Regions from separate parts of the Homo sapiens genome. Here region 1 is linked to region 2. The links are contacts of gene promoters, found by promoter capture Hi-C in human tissues and cell types (Jung and others, 2019). All regions are on one chromosome and are shown on one strand. Each heading gives the region's core, a stretch centred on a gene start or on the middle of the fragment in contact. The rest is flanking DNA. Distances are from core to core; before and after follow the strand shown.

Region 1 (3,135 bases), core at 104-2,603, 210 kb before region 2:
CTCCTGGCATGAAATGATCCTCCTGCCTTGGCCTCCCAAAGTGCCGGGATTATAGGCATGAGCCACTGTTCCCGGCCTAGAATTAAACAGTTTATATATGCTCTAAAATTTAAGTCAGTGATCAAGTTGTTTATACTGTGGATTTATGTCACATGGATATTACTTGATATGAATAATAACTAAATGAACATGACTGTTAGATGATCACCTTTTACTTTAATCAAGAATTGAAGTTTTATTTTTTCTAAATAGATACATATAAAATGAATGGAATTTATTCCCTCTCCCCAGATTTTATTTGGATTCTAAAATGGAATTATTACATCAAAAGATAAGGTATTTTTAAGAAGTATAGTTGTTTTTTTGAGACTGAGTCTTGCTCTAACGCCCAGGCTGGTGTGCAGTGGTGCGATCTCAGCTCACTGCAACCTTTGCCTCCCAGGTTCAAGCGATTCTCCTGCCTCAGCTTCCCAACTAGCTAGGACTGCAGGTGTGCGCCACCACACCTGGCTAATTTTTTGTGTTTCTAGTAGAGGTGGTTTCACCTTGTTGGCCAGGGTGGTCTCGAATTCCTGACCTCAGGCGATCTACCTGTCTCGGCCTCCCAAAGTGCTGGGATTACAGACTTGAACCACCACACCCAGCCATGAAGTATAGTTTTTTGTTTGTTTTTTGAGTTTTGCTTTTGTTGCCCAGGCTGGAGTGCAATGGTGCGATCTTGGCTCACCGCAACCTCTGCCTCCCGGGTTCAAGCGATTCTCCTGCCTCAGCCTCCTGAGTAGCTGGGATTACAGGCATGCACCACCACACACTGCTAATTTTGTAATTTTAGTAGAGATAGGGTTTCTTCGTGTTGGTCAGGCTGGTCTCGAGCTCCAGACCTCAGGTGATCCCCCCGCCTTGGCCTCCCAAAGTGCTGGAATTACAGGCGTGAGCCATCGCACCCGGCTTTTTTTTTTGTTTTGAGACCGAGTCTTGCTCTGTTGCCCAGGCTGGAGTGCAGTGGCACGATCTCGGCTCACTGCCACCTCCGCCTCCTAGGTACAAGTGATTCTCTTGCCTCAGCCTCCCCAGTAGGTGGGATTACTGACACACATCACCATGCCCAGGTAATTTTTTTGTATTTTTAGTAGAGACGGGGTTTCGCCATGTCGGCCAGGCTGGTCTGGAACTCCTGACCTCAGGTGATCTGCCCGCCTCAGCCTCCCAAAGTGTTGGGATTACAGGTGTGAGCCACTGTGCCCAGCTGAAGTATAGTTTTGACTTTCAAGAATTCTTATGAACAAGACATAGCCAGTTGTTTATATAATTGCATTTTCTACCGTTTATTTCTAGAGAAAGAAAATAGATTTTGTCTATCATAATCCCTTTAGTGCTAGCCACTTTTTTTTTTTTTTTTTTTTGAGTTTTCGCTCTTGCTGCCCAGGCTGGAGTGCAATGGCATGCAGTACACTCACGGCTCACTGCAACCTTTGCCTCCCCAGGTTCAAGTGATTCTCTTGCCTCAGCCTCCTGAGTAGCTGGGATTACAGGCACCTACCACCATGTCCAGCTAATTTTTTGTATTTTTAGTAGAGATGGGGTTTCGCCATGTTGGGCAGGTTGGTCTGGAACTCTTGACCTCAGGTGATCGCCTGCCTTGGCCTCCCAAAGTGCTGGGATTACAGGCCTGAGCCACCATGCTCGGCCAGTGCTAGCCACTTTTTAAAAAAGTGACATTAAGCCTAAAAAGACACATTCTAACGTGCCATTTCTCTTCTAGGTTTTGGCTTGGTTTGAAGAAGGTGAAGAAACAATTACAGCCTTTGTAGAACCTTTTGTAATTTTACTCATATTAGTAGCCAATGCAATTGTGGGTGTATGGCAGGTAAGCAAAAATTCCTGTACTGCAAAATTTCAATAAGTTATGTAAGTGATTAGGGCTGTATTAATCTTTCTGTTATCTGTTTTTCCTGATGTGTTGAGTAAAAATATGTTTGCGGGAAGTTTACATGTATTTTCCCTTTATTCCATAAATTAATTGTTTTCTGACACAGTCTCACTCTGTTGCCCAGGCTGGAGTGCAATGGTGTTGTCTCGGCTCACTGCAACCTCTTCCTCCCAGGTTCAAGTGGTTCTCGTGCCTCAGCCTCCCAAGTAGCTGGGACTACAGGCACGCACCACCACGCCCAGCTCATTTTTGTATTTTTTGGTAAGAGACAGGGTTTCACCATGTTGGCCAGGCTGGTCTTGAGCTCCTGACCTCAAGTGATCCGCCCTCCTCAGCCTCCCAAAGTGCTGGGATTACAGACGTGAGCCACCATGCCCGGCCTATTAATTTAATTAATTGCAAATTTTTGACCTTAATGCATATAAACTTTGCAGTTAAGATTGCTCATTCTTCGCCAAGTGTGGTGGCACCAGCCTGTAGTCTCAGCTACTCAGGAGGCTGAGGTGGGAGGGTTGCTTGAACCCAGGAGGTCAAGACTGTAGTGAGCCATGATCGTAACACTGCACTCCAGTCTGGGCAAAGGAGCAACACTGTCTCAGAAAAACATTGTTCATTCTTTACGGTAGCAAGGAATTAAAATGGGTGAGAGAAGCTGCTTAAGGAAATGAGAATGTGAGAACCATTATCTTTATGTCTCCTAGTTGCTTCCTGTGACAAACTTTAAAAGCTACATGTCATTTTTATTCTCCTTGGGTTTTTTTGGTAGGTTTAGCTATAAAAATTGTTTCCCCTTCAGTGCTTACTACAGACTCTGAGACTTAAAATTCATGTTAAGTGTTGATCTTTTAGGTATTTGACGGATATAATCACCCCTTTGAGGACTGAAGTAGACCTTTTTTTTGTTTTTGTTTTGAGACCGACTCTCTGTCGCCCAGGCAGGAGTGCAGTGGCACGATCTCGGCTCACTGCAACCTCCGCCTCCCAGGTTCAAGCAGTTCTGCCTCAGCCTCCTTGAGTAGCTGGGATTACAGGCACCTGACACCACACCCAGCTAATTTTTGTATTTTTAGTAGAGACGGGGTTTCACCATCAGGCTGGTCTCAAACCCCTGACCTCGTGATCCACCCACCTCGGCCTCCCAAAGTGCTGGGATTACAGGTGTGAGCCACCACTCCCGGCCTTTTTTTTTTTTTTTTTTTTTGTTT
Region 2 (2,775 bases), core at 263-2,762:
ATAGTAATAATCTTAAAAATGCATAGCTTCTTTGGTTTCCTTGTAAAAATAAAAAAGAATGCAATAAATGCCTGTCAGAGGTAGACGTCCCTTTACAGCCAACCTCCATCAACACAAATATGAAGATAATCACAGCTCCATTTCAAACAATTGATTTTTTTTTTTTTTTTGAGCAGCAGCAAGATTTATTGTGAAGAGCGAAAGAACAAAGCTTACACAGGGTGGAAGGGGACCCGAGTGGGTTGCCCCAAACAATTGACTTTTTAAGAGTCAAAGGCACCTTTGAAAATATGATTACAGGCCGGGCGCGGTGGCTCACGCCTGTAACCCCAGCACTTTGGGAGGCCGAGGCGGGTGGATCATCTGAGGTCGGGAGGTAGAGACCAGCCTGACCAACATGGTGAAACCCCGTCTCTACTAAAAATACAAAAATTTAGACGGGCTTGGTGGCGGGCGCCTGTAATCCCAGCTACTCGGGAGGCTGAGGCAGGAGCTGAGGCTTGAACCCGGGCGGCATTGCAGTGAGCCGAGATCGCGGCATTGCACTCCAGCCTGGGCGACAGAGCGAGACTCCATCTCAAAAAGAAAGAAAGAAAATATGATTACAGCTCTGAGTCCTCTCTAGTAGAGGCCCCCAGTTTTTATGTAGGAAGGTCTGAGGGGCACCAAACTACTGGGGGTGAAGGGGTGATTGCTTGAAGGTGGCTGGGGGAGACTAGGTAAGTCTCCAACACCGGCACTCTCCCCAGAAAAATGTGTATATTCACAAAAATTTCCCAACAGTTTCAATGAGTTCACACATCATTAAGGAATCCTACCCTAAAGAGGCGTAGCAACCCGTGGAAAGAAACAGTTCCAGCAATTGCAAGCGCCAAATCCCGCCCTCTGAGAGCACACCTGCTCATCTCAATGGCAGCTAGATGTTATTTCAGGAGCGAGGAGGGTGGTTTATTCCCTTTCCCTAGATGGCAAAGTTAAACGGGTACGAAATTCTGCTCGCTACTTCCTGTTCTGCATTCGAGAGGCCAGCTTCCACCACTACACCCCAACCAGCGGGAGGTGCTTTTTGCGGGAAACGAGTAGGAACCGTCTGGAAACGGAGGACCGTGCCCCTATCCCCGGAACATTCGAGGTATAGGACCAAAGGCCTTCCCTGGCTCGGGCGTGCGTGTCTCGTGACAGGTCGGGCTGCTAGAGGGGCCTTTTTACCCCTTGGATGGCCTCTGGCCCCTTGGGGCCGGGATACGAGACCTAGGCCAGCCGCACCCAGAGGTGGCCGCTCCCTTCCTTCCCTAGACCTCTTCTGGGCCTTTCCCAGGCCAGCGCCTGGGCCCTGACGCCGAGGCCTCCGGGATTTCCCAATTCCTCGCCCTCGGCCTCCCCACGGCTCCCAACAACGCAGCACCCCACCCGAGAGCCAGGCCTTGGTCGCCGCAACTGCAGCCCTCACCATCCTGTCACCGGGCTCCGCTCAGTCACCACCACCGTCGCCGCCCTCTTCCTCAGGCTCCTCGGCGACCCGCCCACTTAACCGCAACCAATGAGAGCAGAGGGAGACAGAAATTGCCGTACGGAGGCCCGCACGGACCCTTCTCCGCCGTAAAGCCGTTTGGGAACTTGTGGAGGCGGGGTGGTAGAGTGCAGAGACGAGATCGCGAAGCTTTGAAAAGCGCGGGCAACATCCGGGCACCTGGGCCGTCGAGCTGAGGCGCGCCTTCCGAGCCTGCTTTTTAGGGCGGATGGCAGCCATGCTGAAGTGCGTGATGAGCGGCAGTCAGGTGAAAGGTGGAGCGGCCTTTGTTGTCTTCCCATTTAGCAGAGAGAAAAGCAGACGTTAATAGGTCGTCCCTACCATTGTCTAATTTTTCCTCTTTGCCTTTTTGCGCAATGACTGAGGACGCACGCCCTGGCCACAGCCCCACCCACTCAAGTCCCTGTTAACTTCTGAGGGGAGGATGAGGACCCATCTCGTGTGACTTAGAGGCAGATGTAATATGGGTGGTATCCGGGAAATAGAGTTGTACCATCGGGCCACAAACTCGGGATGCTGAGGACTGCATGGGGAAGAGTTGAGAGAAAAAAATAATGCTTGGACAGTAAAAGTATTTTTGTGCCAAGAGAACAGCATTAACCTGGTTTTTTTTTTCCCCAGATTCTACCATTTTTAAAAATGTATGAACTTGGAAAAGTCACTAAATCTCTTTGGGGCTCAGTTTCTAAAACGGAAACAGGGGTAATGACAGCACCTTCGTCACAGAGTTTGTTTGGAGGCAATGAAATGGAAATGCGTGTAAAGAGCCCAGTAATAGATGGAATGTACAAGAACTATTAGTGTTGTAAACGGCGCTTTCAAAATGGAAGTTAGGCCGGGTGCAGTGGCTCACGCCTGTAATCCTAGCACTTTGGGAGGCCAAGGCGGGTGGATCACCTTAGGTCGGGAGTTCGAGACCACCCTGACCAACATGATGAAACCCCGTCTCTACTAAACATACAAAAATTAGCCGGGCTTAGTGGTGGGCGCCTGTAATCCCAAGCTACTTGGAAGGCTGAGGCGAGAGGATCGATTGAGCCCGGGAGGTTGAGGCTGCAGTGAGTTGAGCTCGTGCCACTGCACTCCAGCCTGAGTGTCAGAGTGAGACTCTGTCTCAAAAAAAATAAAAAATAAAAAGAACATTAACAATGTCGTACGGGATCAGACTAGTGTGTTTTCCAGCCCTAAATGTGTTCTGTGGTGGGGAAATCTGGCTGCCCTCAAACATCAGAGATGTATGTTGG

Evidence for each region. Contacts are between HindIII fragments. The study calls those that stand out against the background at their distance.
Region 1: a contact is called between a fragment that was not itself captured here and the fragment with the promoter of VPS29 in region 2, in 1 of the 25 tissues and cell types used here (hippocampus).

The regions. Positions count from the first base shown.
Region 1 is chr12:110,290,258-110,293,392 of GRCh38, forward strand. ATP2A2 (ATPase sarcoplasmic/endoplasmic reticulum Ca2+ transporting 2) reads left to right here. Exons shown (of 20, transcript NM_170665.4): 4 at 1,763-1,867. Among named protein-coding and RNA genes, the nearest start is that of ATP2A2, 11 kb to the left of the region's middle. The HindIII fragment of the contact is 6,416 bases long and covers 1-3,135 here.
Region 2 is chr12:110,500,599-110,503,373 of GRCh38, forward strand. VPS29 (VPS29 retromer complex component) reads right to left here and starts at 1,513. Exons shown (of 4, transcript NM_016226.5): 1 at 1,451-1,513. The coding sequence starts at 1,453. RAD9B (RAD9 checkpoint clamp component B) reads left to right here and starts at 1,733. Exons shown (of 11, transcript NM_001286535.2): 1 at 1,733-1,785. The coding sequence starts at 1,740. RefSeq lists an enhancer at 1,342-1,481. The HindIII fragment of the contact is 3,487 bases long and covers 1-2,558 here.